Regions from separate parts of the Homo sapiens genome. Here region 1 is linked to region 2. The links are contacts of gene promoters, found by promoter capture Hi-C in blood cells and fetal thymus (Javierre and others, 2016). All regions are on one chromosome and are shown on one strand. The core of a region is centred on a gene start or on the middle of the fragment in contact, and the rest is flanking DNA. Distances in the headings are between cores, read along the strand shown. Region 1 holds the start of TRR-TCT4-1 (tRNA-Arg (anticodon TCT) 4-1). Region 2 holds the start of DUSP23 (dual specificity phosphatase 23).

Evidence for each region. The method cuts DNA at HindIII sites, captures the fragments that hold promoters and counts their contacts. A CHiCAGO score of 5 or more calls a contact.
Region 1: a contact is called between a fragment that was not itself captured here and the fragment with the promoter of DUSP23 in region 2, in 7 of 17 cell types (endothelial precursors, M2 macrophages, M0 macrophages and 4 more). The highest score is 23.4, in endothelial precursors.

What each region holds. Positions count from the first base shown.
Region 1 is chr1:159,138,495-159,142,439 of GRCh38, reverse strand. It overlaps TRR-TCT4-1 (tRNA-Arg (anticodon TCT) 4-1), which reads left to right and starts at 756; the gene lies at 756-829. It also overlaps a transcript of AIM2 not described here. The HindIII fragment of the contact is 2,688 bases long and covers 605-3,292 here.
Region 2 is chr1:159,778,694-159,782,943 of GRCh38, reverse strand. It overlaps DUSP23 (dual specificity phosphatase 23), which reads right to left and starts at 1,982. Exons shown (of 2, transcript NM_001319658.2): 1 at 1,577-1,982; 2 at 401-791. The coding sequence starts at 1,843. The coding sequence ends at 606. LOC101928264 (a long non-coding RNA gene) reads left to right here and starts at 3,563. Exons shown (of 3, transcript XR_922193.3): 1 at 3,563-3,718. RefSeq lists an enhancer at 1,090-1,666 and a silencer at 1,658-2,047. The HindIII fragment of the contact is 4,062 bases long and covers 1-3,208 here.

The DNA.
Region 1 (3,945 bases), core at 699-3,198, 640 kb after region 2:
CTCTTCCTCCCTCTATCTCTCATACACACACTCTCTCACACATATACGTTCACACATACTTACACACTGAACACACACACTGAACACTGTTTTTTCTTCACTCCCATGCTTAATTCTAGTGAAGATGCTGAAGGAACATCACATCAGACTCCCTGTACCTCTTGCCTGGGCTTGACAGATACAGTTCTTATTGCTGAGAACCAGACCAGTCTCTTAGAACTCAGCTGCCATTCTCTGCTGCCGTTGTTCACAGTGTTCCTTTACGGAAGCAGCTCCTTTGTCTCTGGGATCGAGGGTTTTCCTGAATCCCCAAGCGTTGCCCAGCCCCTGTCTGAGAATAGCTGGACTGGGATGAAACCACAGTGAGGGAGTGGGGGTGGAGGTAGAGATGGCTTCTGCGTTTTCTGCAGGGTTGGGTGCACTCTGCTTAATTAGCATGAGAATCGAGAGATTTTCGTATCATCCCTAAGGGATGGAGAGGAAAGGAGAGCAAAGGCTCTAGTTCTGTCCTGTTCCATCAGGGATTCTGAGTCTGGGAAATTGACTGCTGTCACATTCCCCCAATCCTCTGGGGACCATCGGACCCAGAGTATTGAGAAAAGCTTTGATGAAGCCGGCTGGTGGATCTCCACTCCAGATTTTCCAGCTGTCCCTGTCCCCCCCCACCGCTCAGAGAGCAGGATGCTGAGATGGCTCGGTGATGCAGAAGGTATGTGCTTTTTCAGTTCTGGTGCTGATGCTGTGTGTGTGGTGAGGTCTCTGTGGCGCAATGGACGAGCGCGCTGGACTTCTAATCCAGAGGTTCCGGGTTCGAGTCCCGGCAGAGATGGTCACCTGGCAGGTGCCTCTTTTATTTTGACTACTGTCATGCTAGGTTGATAATTATATTTACTCCTCCCTGGAGGCTATAGGGGAGAGAAAGGAAACCCTTTTCCTTGAGAATCCTGGACCTTCTCTCTTTTTGTGTCCCCTCCCTCTTCATTCTTTCTGTATTCCTCTCTTACAGATTTTCATTGTCTAGTAGAGGCTCAGATGTCTGCTGCTTCTCTCTGTTCAGCCCGACTGACATAGCATTTGAATCCTTTACTTCACAGTTAGATAATTGGCACATAGTGACCAAGACGGAAAGTCACAGGTTTTGGAACCACTCTGATTCCCTCCTTTGACCTCTGAGACCACAAAAAGGCAGATTGTCCCATATGCCAATGAGAAAATGTCCAACTGTCCTCTGAGGTAACACCTTCCTTGACCAGGGTTATCATTTGGTGGATGTCAGGATGTCTCTGCCTGACACGGTCATGCAGAGGGTAGTTTCTTGCACTGTCTGTCAGCTACACTTTTTCATTCCTGAGGCTTTTTGCGCTCAAGCTCATCACTCACTTTCTGATCTGTCAGGTGAAATGTAATCATTGCTCTTTGTCTCAGTGGAATAAACCACAGAGCAACACACTAATTACCAGCAGCAAGCTGGATGAGCTTGTCCCCAGAAACTCGAAGGTTTTATACTTAAATGCTATTTACTGTGAAAAGTTTGTACCCCTTTCTGTTTGTAGGACAGACTTCAAGTGTTGTATCTGAATGTTATTTCCATAATTCCTGATTTTCAAAAAGCCATGTTCTCACCACCTCTCTCCTCCCGCGTTCATTTTTGCTGTCTCCTTGTCTTGTCTAATGGGCCACATTTAGCCAGATTGGGAGCTTGGTCAGATTGTGTGATGTAGCTTGGATTTCTATTTTGGGCTGGTCTGGCTCTCTCCCTTGCATATTGCTACCTCTAGCTTATTAGCTAGAGGGAGCTGCCCCTGCCAGGAACCGACCTCCACCTCAGGTGAACCCAGGAAACCTGAGAAGATACGTGTCCCAGGACTGCTGGGGAGACTCAGCATCTCTCCCATGCGGGACTCTGGACGGGCGACCAGAGGACACAGCTGTGCACTTGCACTCTAAGGAAGCTGAGGTGGGGGAGGCGGGAAAGTCCACAGAGGAGTTTAAAGCAGCCATGCCAAAAGGTAAGGGGAATTGACAGTGTAGATAGGAGGACCCTGGAGGGAGATTGATGTTTGCTGCTTCCATGTGTGCATGTTTATAGCAAATGGAAACTTTTGAAATTCTCTTGAAGTAGTATGGTACTTTAAAGACTTAAAATTCTTCTAGTAAGAGCTAACATAGCTTTACATTTCTGGGTTACCTTGGTGGAAGGCCAATTCAGATGTTATCTCTCTCCCACTGGTCCCATAGATATGCCCTTTGGAGGACATGGTGTGGACCAGAAGTTCCTGGGCATTCTTTCCTGGAGCCTTTTGTTTATTGTTAACTCAGCCTATCCTAGATATTTTTGCTTTAAGCCCTCGCCTGAAAGGAAACATTAGTGTGTGGTAGTGGTGGGGGAAGGGGAAGGGGAAGGGAGTTCAGGAAAGGGGTATGTCACATTTTTCCACCATAGTCTAGAATACTGCATACATCTTCCTGATTCTCCCTCCATCATAGCATGGTAATGGAGGTGCTTAACCATGAGAATTCCGAGAAGGTAAGGATATTATTTCTATATCACTGTTAAAATTCGGGGCAAGGGCCCACTCGATGGTTTGCTCATTTCTAGAGTCTTTCTGGAAATAATGATCAGACTTCATGGAATTGTGAGGGCTGGGGATGAGGTGGAAACAGGGCGGGTATGTGTGCCCAAATAGACAGTGTGTTGGGATTTGTTTAAATGTTTGATCAGAATTTGATAGAGCCAGCTCTTTATGTGAAGCTCTATACCTGTGAGAATTAAAATCCACAGATAATTCCCCAAGCCTGATTTTGTCTTGTCATTTCTATTCCCTATCTTGGAATCAGAAGACCTCGGTATAAGAAGCAGCTTTGCCAAGTTGCCGAACATCTGCACTTTAATTTGCTTATGTATTAAAAAAAAGAGTATATTGTCTTTCCTACAAGTGTAAAAAATGGATGAAAAGTTTGTTGTACAGCACTGTGCAAATATAGAGGCTATGTTAGTTTTCAAGTTGCTTTTGTCTTTCTCCTAAGCATACGGGGAGGGTACCTGGACACAAAATAGGGAAAGGAAAGGGTCTGAATGCTCAGCCCCTGCCTGGAACATCCAGGGTGGCTGTGTGTCATCAGCAGGGGCAGATGCCACCCTGTGCTACCCTAAGAGGTCTGATTGGAGTTTTCTAGCTGGCAGGATCCTTCAGAGAGCATGTGGTCCCTCTGTGCCTTAGATAGGAGACTTTATCTCAGCCAAGTAGGTAGAGGGTCCTCCTGGCTACCCCACTCAAGGGAACTAGAAGCTTCTGCTTATTTAACTATTGCCTAGCCTTCAACTCTCTTCATCCTGAGGGGTGGTGTTTTGGAGACTTGAAGGATATCACCAGGACTGGGGAAAAGATTTTCCACATGAGTAAAAATTCTTCTGTGTGTGATAACAATTTTCTTCTGAATACATAAGGGATATCTCCTAATTTATGAATATCATAATTACTGTATTTTAAAGATACTCAGAATGTAAAATAGAAATGGGTGTGTTTTTTATGAAGTCACTTCACTGTAGGACTCAAATACTTCAGAGATGCTGGAGCTGATCATTAATTGAAAAGTATGCGGGCAGGATATGTGTTATTTATTATTGTATTCTCAGTGCCTGAAATATGGTAGGCATTTGATGGATATATTTGAAAGAATTAATGCTGACTTCAATTGACTATAAATTATATAGATAGGAAAGAGAAAGAGATTACTCCTAGCTTCCAGGGAGCAGGAGCACAGACAGTATCTTCAGGCATTAATTCACTTATTTAACAAATATTCATCAAGCACCCACTTCATGCCACTTCCCATTATTCCAGGCACCAAAATAGTAGATTCCACCTTCTTCATGGAATACATATTCCCATGATGAAGACAAATGACAGACAGGTAAATAAATATTATAATAGCTAATAGCAT
Region 2 (4,250 bases), core at 733-3,232:
TCTCTACCCCCAGATAAACAAGGGTGACACGTGTGCAGCAGGTGGGCCTACACGGAGGGGCCTCCTGGCCTGTGAGCATCAGAGACCTGGGAATGCCAGGAGGCCAGGCTATTCTGGACCTGAATCCTTTTCATTGACTAGCTCCCCCAGAAAACACATCAAATATTGTCAGGGAACAGATACATAGCATTTCAGCATCTTCAAGGGATTGAAGACGTGTGTTGCTGTTCTGGCCCATCCTTCCACTTTCTAGAAGTGTTGAAGATGGGCCTCTCTGAGCTTTGCCCACCTCATCCAAAGAACAGAGATGGCCCATCTGTCTTTCCTGTATCACAGGGCTACAGTGAGGCTGAAGTAAGTTAATGTGTGGGAATGCTTTATAAAGTACCATGCAACGTGCCCTGGTTCGTAAAACTCATTTATTCAACAAAGCAGTACAAGCCTCCCCTTCAATCAGGACCTGCCTGCAGGGGTGGGCTACTTCAGTGTCTTCAGCCAATGGGAGCTAGAGGGTTTAATACTTTAGTCCACTTCCCTTCATCTCTGGCCCCATCGACAACATGGGGAAGGGGAGTGAGGGCCTGGTAGAAGGGTACTAAGGCCCCTTATTTCGTTCGCTGGTAGAACTGGAAGACTGCTTTCTCCTGCTCATAGGTCTCGATGGAGCCGGGTCGTAGTCGTCGGATTTCAGCAATGGCATCTCCTGCAGCCAAGCCCCGCTCCTTCACCAGGTAACAGGCCAGCATGGTGCCAGTGCGGCCAAAGCCCAGAGCACAGTGCACTCCCACAGCCTACGAAGAGGGGGCTCGATGGGTGCCACTCAACTCCCCCACCCACAACTGTTTCCTGCCCCTCACTTGGTTCTCCCCACAGCTCCTTCTTCTGTGCCAGGTCCAGGGCTCTGCAGCAAAGTCAGGGAGGGCTGTCCCTGCACTAGGTGGCTAGGAGGCCTCTGCACTGGCTGGTTCAAGAGCTGTCCACCTCTACACAGCCCTCCACCTGTGGTGTTCAATACAGAAGACAGTAGCCACGGCTACTGTGGCTACTGTACTCGAAATGTGGCTAGTCCAAACTGAGATGTAGTGTGAAAAACGCAACAGGGTATGAAGAGGTAGTAGAAAAAAGAATGAAAATATCTCATTAAGATCACCAAAGTTAATTTTATCTGCTTCCCTGCTTTTTAAGAATGCCGTTGCTAGAAAAATTAACATTACATGGAGCCACTTAGGTTCCATTATATTTGGACAGCTTTACTCTAGAAAATGGTAAACAGCCTCCACCTGACTTCAACCCCCACCTCTCCCAGGTGTCTGTCCACACCCTTCTCCTTCACAACTCACAGTATTAGCTGGTTTTCACTGCCTCTCCTCAAGCCCAGTTCGCACTGCTTCGCCCTCTCTTTAGTTCCTTCCGTTTAGCGCTTCCCTCCCCCGCACTGGCTTCCCAGTCTCCCGGCCCTACTGTCTGCCTCCCCGAGCCCAGTTAAGTTATCCCAGGCCCGGTCTCCCCAGCTCCGCCCGTGTCCCCCGCTGACCTTCCAGGCCCCTCCCTCCCTGCGCTGACCCCGCCCGCTGACCTCTCCCCGTGCGTTGGCCTCGTCCACGATCTGCACGAAGCGGTCGATCTGGTCGGGGGCCGGCGGGCAGAAGTCGGGGATGCGCAGGCGGTGCAGGGTGAGGCCGGGGCAGCTGTCGCTGTGAGGGGGCCCGCGCTCCGTCAGGGACACCAGGTGCCGCACGCCCAGGTCCAACAGGAACTGGTAGTGGGCGGGGAGCCGCGGCAGCGCCAGTCCCGCCAGCCGGCCCGGAAGCACCCAGGAGAAGTTGGGGGGCTGCACGCCCATCGCTGGGAAAGGGCACAGGACAGCGGGTCATGGGGGCCGAGGCTGGCCAGCCCCGCTCCGCCCACGCGTCCCCTCGCCCGCTCCGAGCCAAGTAACTCACCACCTACCTGGCCTCGGCGCCTCCCGGGCCACGTGGTCTGCAGGGCGCCGCCCTCGGGTCGCTCTGCCCAGCCGCGGGGATTGGCCCAGAACCTGGGGCGGGGCTGGAACGCGGAACCCAGTCTCTGAGCGACCGAGGGAAGCGCCGCGATCCCGCCCCGTCCGAGCAGATCACGCGGTGATTGGCTGGATCATCATAATGGGCGGGGGGTTACTTCCACGGGGTTCAACCCACTCAGCTAAGAAGGAAGACCTGGAGCGAGTTAGGAATTGTTTGCTGCGGATGGAACAACCCGGGGTCGGGCTCTGCTGCACCCTGGCGGCATGTTGCAGTCATTGCGTCACTGGCGCCTGCCCCTGCCTCCTCGCGGGCCGGCCTAGTTCTACCTCCTTCACGCTGGATGCCCTGGGGTTTAAGAGATGACAAATCGGCTTTCTCCCAGGACGAGGAGTCTCCTCTCTAATGATTGACTGGTCGTTATCAGCGACTTTTTGAACTGTTCCAGTAAGAGGGAATTACTGCTGCAAGGAGGCTATTCTCATTTTTTCATTGCTGGAACTATTAAAAACTTACCCAGGGTAATAATTATAGTAATAATAATAACCAGCACCAACTTCTCCTGTCAATCCAGTTGCTCCTCAGGACTTATTGAGCATTTATTATGTGCTAGATAGTCTTCTAAGCACTTAGCACATACTGACTCATTTAATTGCCACAGTAATCTTATAAGATAGGTGATCTAGTGAATCCCATTTTATGGATGAAAAAACAGAGGCACTGGAGAGGTTAATAAACTTGACCAAAGGATGATGACTAATGCCTCCAAAATCTTTAATAATATCGCCATTTCCTAAAGTTAAATGGAACATTGTTTTCTCTTCACATAACCCCCTCATGTCCCCAAATATTATCTGGGTTAAACGCTTGTGGGTTTTCTTAATTTTTATTAGTATTTCATATTTCTTCATTTTTCAAGGTTTCCTAGTTCTCTGGGTCACTGTCCCCTGGGCAGGCTAGAGTTGATTAGTGTTGTTCTTACTAGGTGGGGGCCCCTAGATCTGAACACCGTTTCCACTGTCATCTGACCAGTCCATATCCTCATTTGAATAATGTGCTTCTAGCGATGCAGACTAACTGTAATTATGAAAATAGTTAACCCTTATTGAATTTGTTTATGTACCAGGCCCTGTGCCAAGCGCTTTCTGGAAGAACCACATGTGAAAGGTATTTTTGTATCTTTTTTTGTACATGAATCATTGGAAGCTTAAAGAAGTTGGTTAACTTGGCCAAGGACACAGTGATCCAAGCCCAGGGCACTTGGCCATGAGGATGTATTATATTTCCTTCCCTTTGCACCCACCTATGACACACGTCTGACCATTTAAGCCTTTGGCTTCAGCAAGATGGAAAGCAATTTGTCTTCTCCTAAAGATCAAAGCCTGCTCTGACCCTGTGGGAAATACACTTACCATTTACCCAGACAATTACTTTCCCCAGGTTCCAGGAGGTGCCAAATCTCCCCTTTTTCTCCTTCCAGACAATCACAGCCCTCATTAAGCCCTTCCTGTTTGCACTCTCATTTCCTACATAAATTCCTATCAAGGTTACCAGCCCTCCCCAGTTTATTCCTTTCTCTCTTTCCCAGCCATGGCCTCTCAGCCACCAGTCACCTCTTCCCCCAACCCCCTGACCTCCCACTTCTCTTCTCAATTCAACTGCTCTTCAGGATTTCTGGTTGCACTACCTCTGGAGACAAGACTCTAGCATTTGTTCTTGTAAGTTAATCTTTTCTTAGTCCCTTTGCCTTGTTCTCCTTTCTTTGCTTCCCCTACTCACCAGGGAAGTTTCCACTTCACTCCCTACCCTCCTATGTGCTCCTTCTTTGCCTCCTTGATATCCAGCTCGAAGCCCATATTCTCCAGAAAGAGAAAATTTTTTTGGGAGACCGAGATCTTCCTCTTCCCTGAGTCCCCTACCAATGATTCTCTCCCTCTTGTGGGTTTCTGCAGGGCTAGCAGTGCATCCATCAAACCATTAGGGCCTCCATGTGGAGAGGCCAGTTGGCTCCCTTTTTAGGAAGCTCTGCCCTTCCCTTCCAGCAGACCCAGAGTGGAAAGGGCCCAGGGTCCCTGCCTTAAGCTTTGTCAAGGGTGCCATATGTCAAGGGTGCCATATGATGTTTTGTCTTGGGCCCAAGGGGCCTCAAACTGTAAGGAAAAACCCTCTCTGATGGTTTCCTGGCTCAGACTTCTGCAATTAACAGGACTTCTGCAACTAACCACCTTCTTGTCTGCCCACATACATGAT